2 separate regions of the Homo sapiens genome follow, and region 1 is linked to region 2. Evidence: promoter capture Hi-C in human tissues and cell types (Jung and others, 2019). All regions are on one chromosome and are shown on one strand. The core of a region is centred on a gene start or on the middle of the fragment in contact, and the rest is flanking DNA. Distances in the headings are between cores, read along the strand shown. Region 1 overlaps ATRN (attractin). Region 2 holds the start of DDRGK1 (DDRGK domain containing 1).

What was found. The method cuts DNA at HindIII sites, captures the fragments that hold promoters and counts their contacts. A contact is called where the count stands out against the background at its distance.
Region 1: a fragment that was not itself captured here is called in contact with the fragment with the promoter of DDRGK1 in region 2 in 1 of the 25 tissues and cell types used here (small bowel).

The regions. Positions count from the first base shown.
Region 1 is chr20:3,649,943-3,654,553 of GRCh38, forward strand. It overlaps ATRN (attractin), which reads left to right. Exons shown (of 29, transcript NM_139321.3): 29 at 1-1,176. Among named protein-coding and RNA genes, the nearest start is that of GFRA4, 11 kb to the right of the region's middle. The HindIII fragment of the contact is 6,966 bases long and covers 1-4,611 here.
Region 2 is chr20:3,203,432-3,208,323 of GRCh38, forward strand. It overlaps DDRGK1 (DDRGK domain containing 1), which reads right to left and starts at 1,251. Exons shown (of 9, transcript NM_023935.3): 1 at 1,106-1,251. The coding sequence starts at 1,196. It also overlaps a transcript of ITPA not described here. RefSeq lists an enhancer at 943-1,162. The HindIII fragment of the contact is 17,154 bases long and covers 1-4,892 here.

The DNA.
Region 1 (4,611 bases), core at 143-2,642, 450 kb after region 2:
CTGTGTGCCTCCTGCCATCCCTGCACACAGCCTGGGGAGAAGCCTGTGCCTCCCCGTGTGGAGAGAAGGCAACCCCAGATCCCCTGAGCTAACCCGGAGGAAAGGCAGTCCTGGACAGAAGACTGTCAGCAGAAGGAAAGTACTGGACTACCCGTGGGTAAGTCCTGCCATTCAAGACTGGAGACACCTGGGAAATAAAAAGAGCAGGGCACTGCTGGTGGGAAGAGGCATTTTACCTTCCAGTGCAAATCCTGCTCCTTTGATTTAATGGGGTGTACTGGGGCCAGGGGCTGATTCACTTCCTTGGGAGATGGTGGTGTTTTCATGAACATCTTTGATCCTTCCATTTCATTTATTCATCCATCCATTCAACAAGTATTTGCTAAACACTAACTTAAGCTAATGCTAGGGTAGTGACTGAGATGTAAAAATAGATTTTAGAATTAAAACAAAATCCAAGTCCTCACACCCCTGTCATCCCAGGAGATCTTTCCTTGTGGTGGTTTCTGTGAGAATTGGCCATCCTGAGGACACAGCCAGGACGGCAGAGGCCTCCTGGCCTCAGGGCATGCCCTGCCTACCTTCTGAAATGTTTACCCCATTGACCAAACTTGGCTCCAGCCATTGCGGTGGTTTCTAGATAGCCAGGCCCACCAAGAGATATTGCCCCTTGATGAGAGTCAAACACCCTGCCTACAAGGAGATGTTTTGAAATGGAGAGGAAAATTGGCACCTCATCTTTTAAAGGCAGTAATGGAATTGATTTTCAGTAACTGAATTTGTGCACAAAACATTCTAAACACTAGTGAAGCCTGTTTCGTTGAACTAATTCTGGCTCTGGAAATGTTTTTGTTTTATAGTTATTTACGATTTCGTTTGTTTGGATTCAAGCTTAGTTTGTTAATATGTATAATTTAGCATCTATTACACTCATGTAAATATGGAGTAAGTATTGTAAACTATTTCATCGCGGGGATTGTGGGTGTTATACATACATTTAGGACTGCAATTTTTTGGTATTTTTTGTATTGTAAAATAACAGCTAATTTAAGCAGGAACAAGAGAACTAAGGGAGGTCTGTGCATTTTAAACACAAATGTGAAGAACTTGTATATAAACAAAAGTAAATACTATAATACAAACTTCCTTCTGAAATAAAAGTAGATCTGGTAAAAATGTGGCTTTTGTTCTGAGTGTTTCATTTTGATTTTGCATTGTTTTGCCTATATTTACATTTTGGTCATTAGAACCTTAAGGGAAAAAAAAAAGCGTTTACCAGTTTTCAGACTGCGTCAGAGGGAGCACTTGACAGTTAACGGAGGTGAGGGTGAAAACCCCTGGCAGGTACCTCAGACAGCCCTCCAGGCAGCTTGTGAGCCACAGACCTTCCACACAGCCTTTGTGTGCCTACAGGGCAGCTGGGCCCGTGGGGGCAGGGACAGATCTGAGCAGTGAGGTATGGACAGCCGTCTCACTGCTCCACTAACCACACCACTGTCTCCAGTGGTGCTGTTATCCCTCCACTTTGCGCTCTCCTCACAGGCTCCTGAATGTCCTCTAGGTTGTCTCCAAACTGCTAAATCTCAGGTGTGCTGACAGGTCTCAGCCGTGGCCAGTGTTTTCCTCGGCCTTGAAGTTTTGAGGAAGTTACTCCCATTGGCAAGGCCTTGTTTGGGGGCCTCCTGTGTGTCCTGCCCCCTTTTATTTGGCTCCTGCCCTCAGAATGGGTCAGAGTCATGTATTTCAGTGCAGAGTGCAGATTCCCAGTGCTAGCAGTTCCTTCCAGAAGGATGAGGTCATTGAAAGAAGGAGGAAACACAAGACGGTCACTCCTGTAGGGGAAGATGGCAGGGTACTAGGGCCAGGGCCTGAGGTGAGGGCAGGAGCCTGGAGGAGGCCTGCCTACCAGAGCTCAGGTCTGGCTTAGGGAGGGAAATGGCTGGACTAGTGGCTGCAAACAAGTTGAGAAGGACCTTGAAACTCTTCCAGGGAGGGTTATGAGAGCCACCAACAGTAACAGGATAGAAACCCTGTGATTTGGTGGTACTGTGGCAGAGACAATGCTGTGTTTACCAAACCTACTGGGCCCACAGCTCATCATTTCCCAGCCTCCCTGCAGTTAGGTTGGGACCAAGCTAAGCCATGGCCAAGGAAAGGTTGGAAGAAGTGATGGGCACCAATTCCAAACGTGGCACACAAATGCTCCCACAGGGGACTCTCCTACGGATCACATGTTAAAGACTGGAGGGACTGTGGGTCCCTGAGTCACCCCTTAGAGGCCGGCCGCCTGATCAGTAAGAGCTGTGCTGGCCTTTGCATCACTGGAAAGCAAACTCACTCTGCTGATCCACTGAGATTTGGGGCTTTGTTACACTAGTTAGCTTTTCTTATTCTCACTAATATACAAATCAGCACTTTGAAGTGCAGTGCACATGTAACCAAACCCTTAAGTACATGGCACTGGCTCAGCGTGTGGCCAGGTGGCGAGCAGTGATAAGACAGGTGCAGCTGGCAGGACAACTGAGGTCCCTGCCAGGCGGAGCAAAACATCTGGTAAGGCCGTTTCACTCGATAACTCGGAAAACAAACTCCATGTCTGCTGACTTTTTGACTTGAGGGGAATAAACAACAACAACAACAACAAATATGTGTTGATTGTTACTGGCTGCTTTTGGCGAGGCATCACGAGAAAAAGTTTACTTCAAGAAAGAATTAGCCAGTTTACAAGCAGAAGGGAAAAAGATGGAAAGATGTTAACCAGGGCCTTGCAATTCTGGAAAAGCCAACTGCTTCTAGTCTCCAACCAGTAAGAGGTGCAGGTGAGCAACAAAGGCCCCATGAGACTTAGTTGAACACAGTGACTGGGCCTCATGGTGACCATCCAATGAAGGGTGTGGTCTTCCCACTGGAGCATGGAAACTGCAAAGCCACCAGCTTGAGGGAGGGGCACGTGGTTAAGGAAGCAAAGAAAAAGCTGACATGAGAACTGTTTCCAGGAACAAACCATGAATGTAGTCACTGACCCTGGACCTGCCTGGAAATAAATAAAGATGTAGTAAATTTAAGAAACCATTAGCAAAGCCTTAAAAAAAAAAAAAAAAAAAAAAAAAAACGGTGGCAATTGAGGAAGTCTTAAATCCACCTTCAGGCAGGAAAATGGTTGTGAAAGCTGTGTCCAGCGAGGGCTTTACAAGCTCAGATGTGGGCCCAAGAGCAGAACTGGGCCTGAGCGAGGACTCCCCCCAGCCCAGGACAGGGCCCAGCAGGATTGCAAAAACACCGCAGAGCAGCAATTGCTGCATCTGCACCCGCTCCTTCCTGGGTAGGAGGGCCTAGGAGGGTGTCCTGCCTGTTCTCATCACTACCTGCTGGGTGGGAGGTGGATTAAGCTGTCTTGTTAATTCAGGATTGTGGACTTCAAAGAGCCACCTGAGGGAGGCTGCATCACCTGGAGGTCTGGGCGGGGTGTGACCTCGTATTGTCCCCCTAGGAGAGGGTGCCTGTGACCCATGTAGGAGAGGAAGCACAAAACTGGTTTTGGTGATCAGAATAGCAAACTGGGCCAGATGCTTACCACACATTTCCTCTTCCTGAGTCCACAGCTTCGACTGCATGGCCTGGGCCCGTGGCATCTACCCAGATGCCTTGGGACCAGCCCTCACCAATGATGTGTCATTTCAAGGCCATTCACAGTAACAGTGTCTCCTCCACTGTCTCCATCAACCTTGAAGGCTTATGGTGAAGATGGTAATACAACAGGATTGAAGGAGACTGGGTCCCTGAATGACTTTGTGGAACAGAGCACTATAGGCCAAAGGTAGTAGAATTAGGTATCTTGTTTTATGCTGCTTAAGTGAATTAATTAATTCTCTAGATTTATTCACCTAGTTATTCAACAAATTTTTATTGAGCACATCAGGGCTAGGGCATTGTGTCAGGATCAGAGATTTTGCAATGAACAAAACAGAAAACTCCATGTCCTCCAGGGGAGTTGATAATAAAATGTCAGATAAGCTCTGTGAAGAAAGGTAAAAGTAGGGTTAGGGGTAGAAAGTGCTGGGGGGATTGCTACTTAACATAGTGTGGCCAGGGGAAGCCATTCTGCTAAGGTGACAGCTGAGCAGAACGATGAGTGGAGGGGGCAGGAAGGAATGTGGAGGTCTGGGAGAAGAGCATTCCAAACAGGGATGGCAGGTGCAGAGGCCCTGAGGGGGCAGCATGCCTGGTAGGCCTGCTGGATATTTCTGAGAATGAAAAAGTCCATTCCCAGTTGTTTGCGTGGAGAACCTAACCCAGTTATAAACACAAAGTACTTGAGAGCTGGTTTAATATACAGCCAGCTTTCCAGCAGTGCAACTACTGTGTACATCAAGGGAAAACTGAACTTCGTTTTCCTTAAAACTTATCATCAGCTGGTCATCATTTTGACAAATTCTGTCAACAACAGCAGTGTCATTCCTGGCATCTGTATGGGTCACGTCTGAACAGACACACGCCCTGCAGCCCTGCAGGTACCAGCTGTATAACAAGAACTCCCTTCCACCCTGTGTCCTGGAAACAAGAAAGCCATAGACCGGAAGATCCCGATGGCTATCTCAAATGTGCTGGATG
Region 2 (4,892 bases), core at 1-2,500:
AAATGACAATGCTGCCTATAAGCCCAGCCCGGCCCATGGCAGGAGGAGCGGCAGCCCGGAAGCCTCACCTCCTCTGCTTAGCGGCCTGCTGCCCACAGCACAAGGCCCCGACTTCTCAGTCTGACTGGCAAGGCCTTTTCCACCAGGCCCACAGCTTGGTCCCAGGCGGGGGCTCAGCCCTTCCCTCGGGCCTGTGTGAATACTCCTCTCCCCTCCCGGCTCCACCTTTCCAGCTGGCCTGTCAGGAGGCCCCTATCCTGATGTCCCCAGCTCTCATCGAGTACCCCCTGCAGGAATCCACTGATTTCTCGCCTAACACCACCTGTGGTTTTATCTGGCTCCCCAGCCAGAGAGTACACTTCCCGGCGGTGGCCGAGCCTCCCCCGGGAAGACCTGCTGGATCTCCGCCTTCCCTCAGCGTGTCCCTTCCGCTCCTGGGAGCGCGCAGGTGCTCAGAGGTAGCTTGTGGGCCCAGGGAGCAGGAAAACACATATACAAACCCGCCCGCTGACCAGAAATGGGGGGAAAGAGGGAGGATGGGTGTATCTGTTCTGTGCCCTGGCCAATGACATGGCCTTCTGATCGGGGAGCGGATTGGGGAGGGAGAGTGGGCCCTCTCCTTGGCGGGAAGGGAGAGAGCTTCAGGAATTTCCTGGAGCCGCCTCGCGCTTCTCCAGCTCGTGGGGGACAGGCAGAAAATATTCAGATGCCCCCTTCCTGGCACCTGCTCTGGAGCCAGGCTGGGAGGAATGGAAAACCCCTGCGGCCTCCCTAACAGGTGCAGAGGGAAAGGGCCCCGACGGTGACGGATGGGAGTGTGCGCCGGCCAGGGCCTCAGGCCTTTGGAGGTATGGAGTTCCCGGGGGTGAAGAGAGGGATGAGGCCAGACTCTGGCTTGGAGTCGAGAGAAAGGGGTAGCGGCGCGGCCACCGATTCCAGGTAGGGCACTGCGGAAGCCCCACCCGGCACACGACTAGCGCACGGACGCGCATGCGTCCCGCCCGCCCAGGTGCGCACGCGCAGGAGCCGCGGCGCGACGGTCCACAAAGGCTCAGAAGGCCAGAAAACCCGGTACCACCAACCCTGGTGCAGCGGCATCTCCTACCTGATGCCGCCCGGCCCCGGCTGCGAGTCAGGAAGAGGATAAAGCCGACTAGCAGAGCCGCCGCTACCAAGTACCACACAGGCGCCACCATGACGAGGGCCTCAGTGCAGAACCACTGCGTCCACCCTGAGGCCGGGATCTCATAGGCCCCGCCCCTATTTCCCAATCTAGACTCCGCCCACTACTCGGAGCCCCGCCCAGCGGCACATCACAGAGAGGCTTTAATGTCAGACATTAAAATGAGTTTGGGGGGTGTAAAGAAACCCACAATGTTAAGAGGAAATTATAGCAGACGGTATGTCCAGTAGAAAACATCTATGTATGTTTTTTTTTTTTGAGACGGAGTCTCTGTCGCACAGGCTGGAGTGCGGTGGTGCGATCTCGGCTCACTGCAACCTCCACCTCCCAGGTTCAAGCGATTCTCCTGCCTCAGACTCCCGAGTAGCTGGGATTACAGGCGCCCGCCACCACGCCCGGCTAATTTTTGTATTTTTAGTAGAGATGGGGGTTTCACCGTGTTGGCCAGGCTGGTCTCGAACTCCTGACCTTGTGATCCACCCACCTTGGCCTCCCAAAGTGCTGGGATTACAGGCGTGAGCCACCGCGCCCGGACTATATATGTTTTAAAAATCACTAAACAATCCCACATAGTGTTTATGGAAACAACCGTGGAAAAAGTACGAAAAGAGGCTTGGGACTGATGCACACCAACTTCAGGATAGCGATTACCTCTAGGAGGAGGGAAGCGGGTTGGGGTTTTGCTGTATCTGTGACACTGAATTTCTTTCTTTCTTTCTTTCTTTTGAGGGGAAGGGGAGGGGAGGGGAGGGCAGTACTGGAATTTATTAAGCTTTTTGTATACATGATAACAGAAGTAAAGATTTATTTCAGGAGCCAGGCACAGAGGCTCGTCTGTTAACCCAATACTTTGGGAAGTCTAGGTAGAGGTGAGCCTAGGAGTTCAAGACCAGCCTGGGCAACATGATGAAACCCTGTCTCTACAAAATACAAAAATTAGCCAGGTGTGGTGGCATGCACCTGTGATTCCAGGTACTTGGGAAGATGAGGTGGGAAGATCACCTGAGCCCAGGGAGGTCGAGGCTGCAGTGAGCCATGATCATGCCAGTGCACTCCAGCCTGGGTGATAGAGTGAGACCCTGTCTCAGAAAATAAAAATAAATAAAAATAAATTCAGGACCAATGAACAATGGTGAGAAAGGGATTTGAAAAAATACGGGCCAGATGAGGTGGCTCTCCCCTGTAATCCTAGCACTTTGGGAGGCCGAGGTGGGCGGATCACTTCAGGTCAAGTGTTCAAAACCAGCCTAGCTGACGTGATGAAATCCTGTCTCTACTAAAAATACAAACAATGAGTGGGGCGTGGTGGCACATGCCTGTAATCCCAGCTACTCGGGAGGCTGAGGCAGGAGAATCACTTGAACCCAGGGGGCGGACGTTGCAGTGAGCCAAGATTGCACCACTGCACACCAGCCTGAGCGACAGAGCAAGACTCTGTCTCAAAAAAAAAAAAAAAAGAAAGAAAGAAAGAAAAAGAAAAAGAAAAAATATGGGCTGGGCGAGGTGGCTCACACCTGTAATCCCAGCACTTTGGGAGGCTGAGGTGGGTGGATCACCTGAACTCAGGAGTTTGAGACCAGCCTGACAAACACAGTGAAACCCTGTCTCTACTAAAAATACAAAATTAGCTTGGCGTGGTGGTGGGTGCCTGTAATCCCAGCTACTTGGGAGGCTGAGGCAGGAGAATCTCTCGAAGCCGGGAGGCAGAGGTTGCAGTGAGCCGAGATCACACTATTGCACTCCAGCCTGGGCAACAGAGTGAGACTCAGTCTCAAAAAAAAAAAAAAAAAAAAAAAAGCTGGGCACCGTGGCTCACGCCTACAATCCCAACCAACACTTTGGGAGGTCGAGGTGGGTGGATCACCTGAGGTCGGGAATTTGAGACCAGCCTGACCAACATGGAGAAACCCCATCTCTACTAAAAATACAAAATTAGCCGGGTGTGGTGGCTCATGCCCATAATCCCAGCACTTCGGGAGGCTGAGGCAGGCGGATCACGAGGTCAGGAGATCAAAACCATCCTGGCTAACACGGTGAAACCCCGTCTCTACTAAAAATACAAAAAAATTAGCCAGGCGTGGTGGTGGGCGCCTGTAGTCCCAGCTACTTGGGAGGCTGAGGCAGGAGAATGGTGGGGACCCGGGAGGCGGAGCTTGCAGTGAGCTGAGATCGCGCCACTGCACTCCAGCCTGGGCGACAGAGTGAGACTGTCTCAAAAAAAAAAAAAAAAGAAGAAGAAAGATACAAAAATTAACCAGGCATGGTGGTGCATGCCTGGAGTCCCAGCTACTCAGGAGGCTGAGGTGGGAGAACTGCTCGAACCCAATATGCAGAGGTTGCAGTGAGCCGGGACCACACCACTGTACTTCAGCCTGGGCAACAGAGCAAGACTCCATCTCAAAAAAAATAAATAAATAAAAGAATGAAAAAGAAAGTTATCTATGGACTTGTAATTATAGATGTCAGTTGTGATCTTTTTGTTTGTTGGTTTTTTGAGACAGGGTCTCACTCACATCACCCAGGCTAGAGTACAGTGGCACTCTTGGCTCACTGCAGCCTCGACTTCCCAGGCTCAGGTGATCCTCCCACCTCAGCCTCCTAAACAGCTGTGACTACAGGTGTGTGCCCCCAAGCCCAACTAATTTTTTGTATTTTTTGTAGAGACTGGGTTTCACCATGTTGTCTAGGCTTGTCTTGAACTCCTGGGATCAAGTGATCCACTGTGCCCAAGCTAGTTATCTTACATTACAGAACACCTACTATGTACCAGGAGCTGGGATTTAAGAATGAGAGGTGAGGCTGGGCACCGTGGCTCAAGCCTGTAATCTCAGCACTTTGGGAGGCTGAGGTGGAGGGATCTCCTGAGGTCAGGAGTTTGAGACCAGCCTGGTCAATATGGTGAAACCCCACCTCTACTAAAAGTACAAAAATTCACTGGGTGTGGTGGTGCATGTCTGTAATCCCAGCTACTCAGGAGGCTGAGGCAGGAGAATCCCTTGAACCCGGGAGTCGGAGGTTGAAGTGAGCCGAGATCGTGCCACTGCACTCAAGCCTGGGCGACAAGAGCAAGACTCCATCTCAAAACAACAACAACAACAACAACAAAACACAGTGGCTGATGCCTGTAATCCCAGCACTTAGGGAGGCCGAGGTGGGCATATCACGACGTCAGGAGTTCGAGACCAGCCTGGCCAACATGGTGAAACCCCGTCTCTACTAAAAATGCAGAAATTAGCTGGGCGTCGTGGGGGGTGCTTGTAGTCCCAGCTACTCAGGAGGCTGAGGCAGGAGAATCGCTTCAACCCAGGAGACAGAGGTTGCAGTGAGCCAAGATCATGCCATTGCACTCCAGGCCAGGTGACTAGAGCAAGACTCCGTCTCAAAAAAAAAAAAAAAAAAGAAAAAGAGAGGTGAGCAAAAACAGATATGGTTTTTACCATTAGGATTTTTAGAAGAGAAAACAGAATCACACAAATGAATATCTATTTGCAGTGCAGAGGTCAGTGCTATGCAAGCAGATGAAAGGGAGCTCAGGGAAGGTTTTCCTGAGCTGGGGCTTGAGCTGGCTAAGATCCAAGAAAGGCATCCATGTAAGGTGGGCTGTTTTTCTTCTTTTCAGGCTCCTCGGGGTAACTGATGTCCCCCAAGCCCTCCTCTGCCCCCAAATCCCCATGGCCACTCCTCTAGGGACTCTGCATAATGGTTAGTG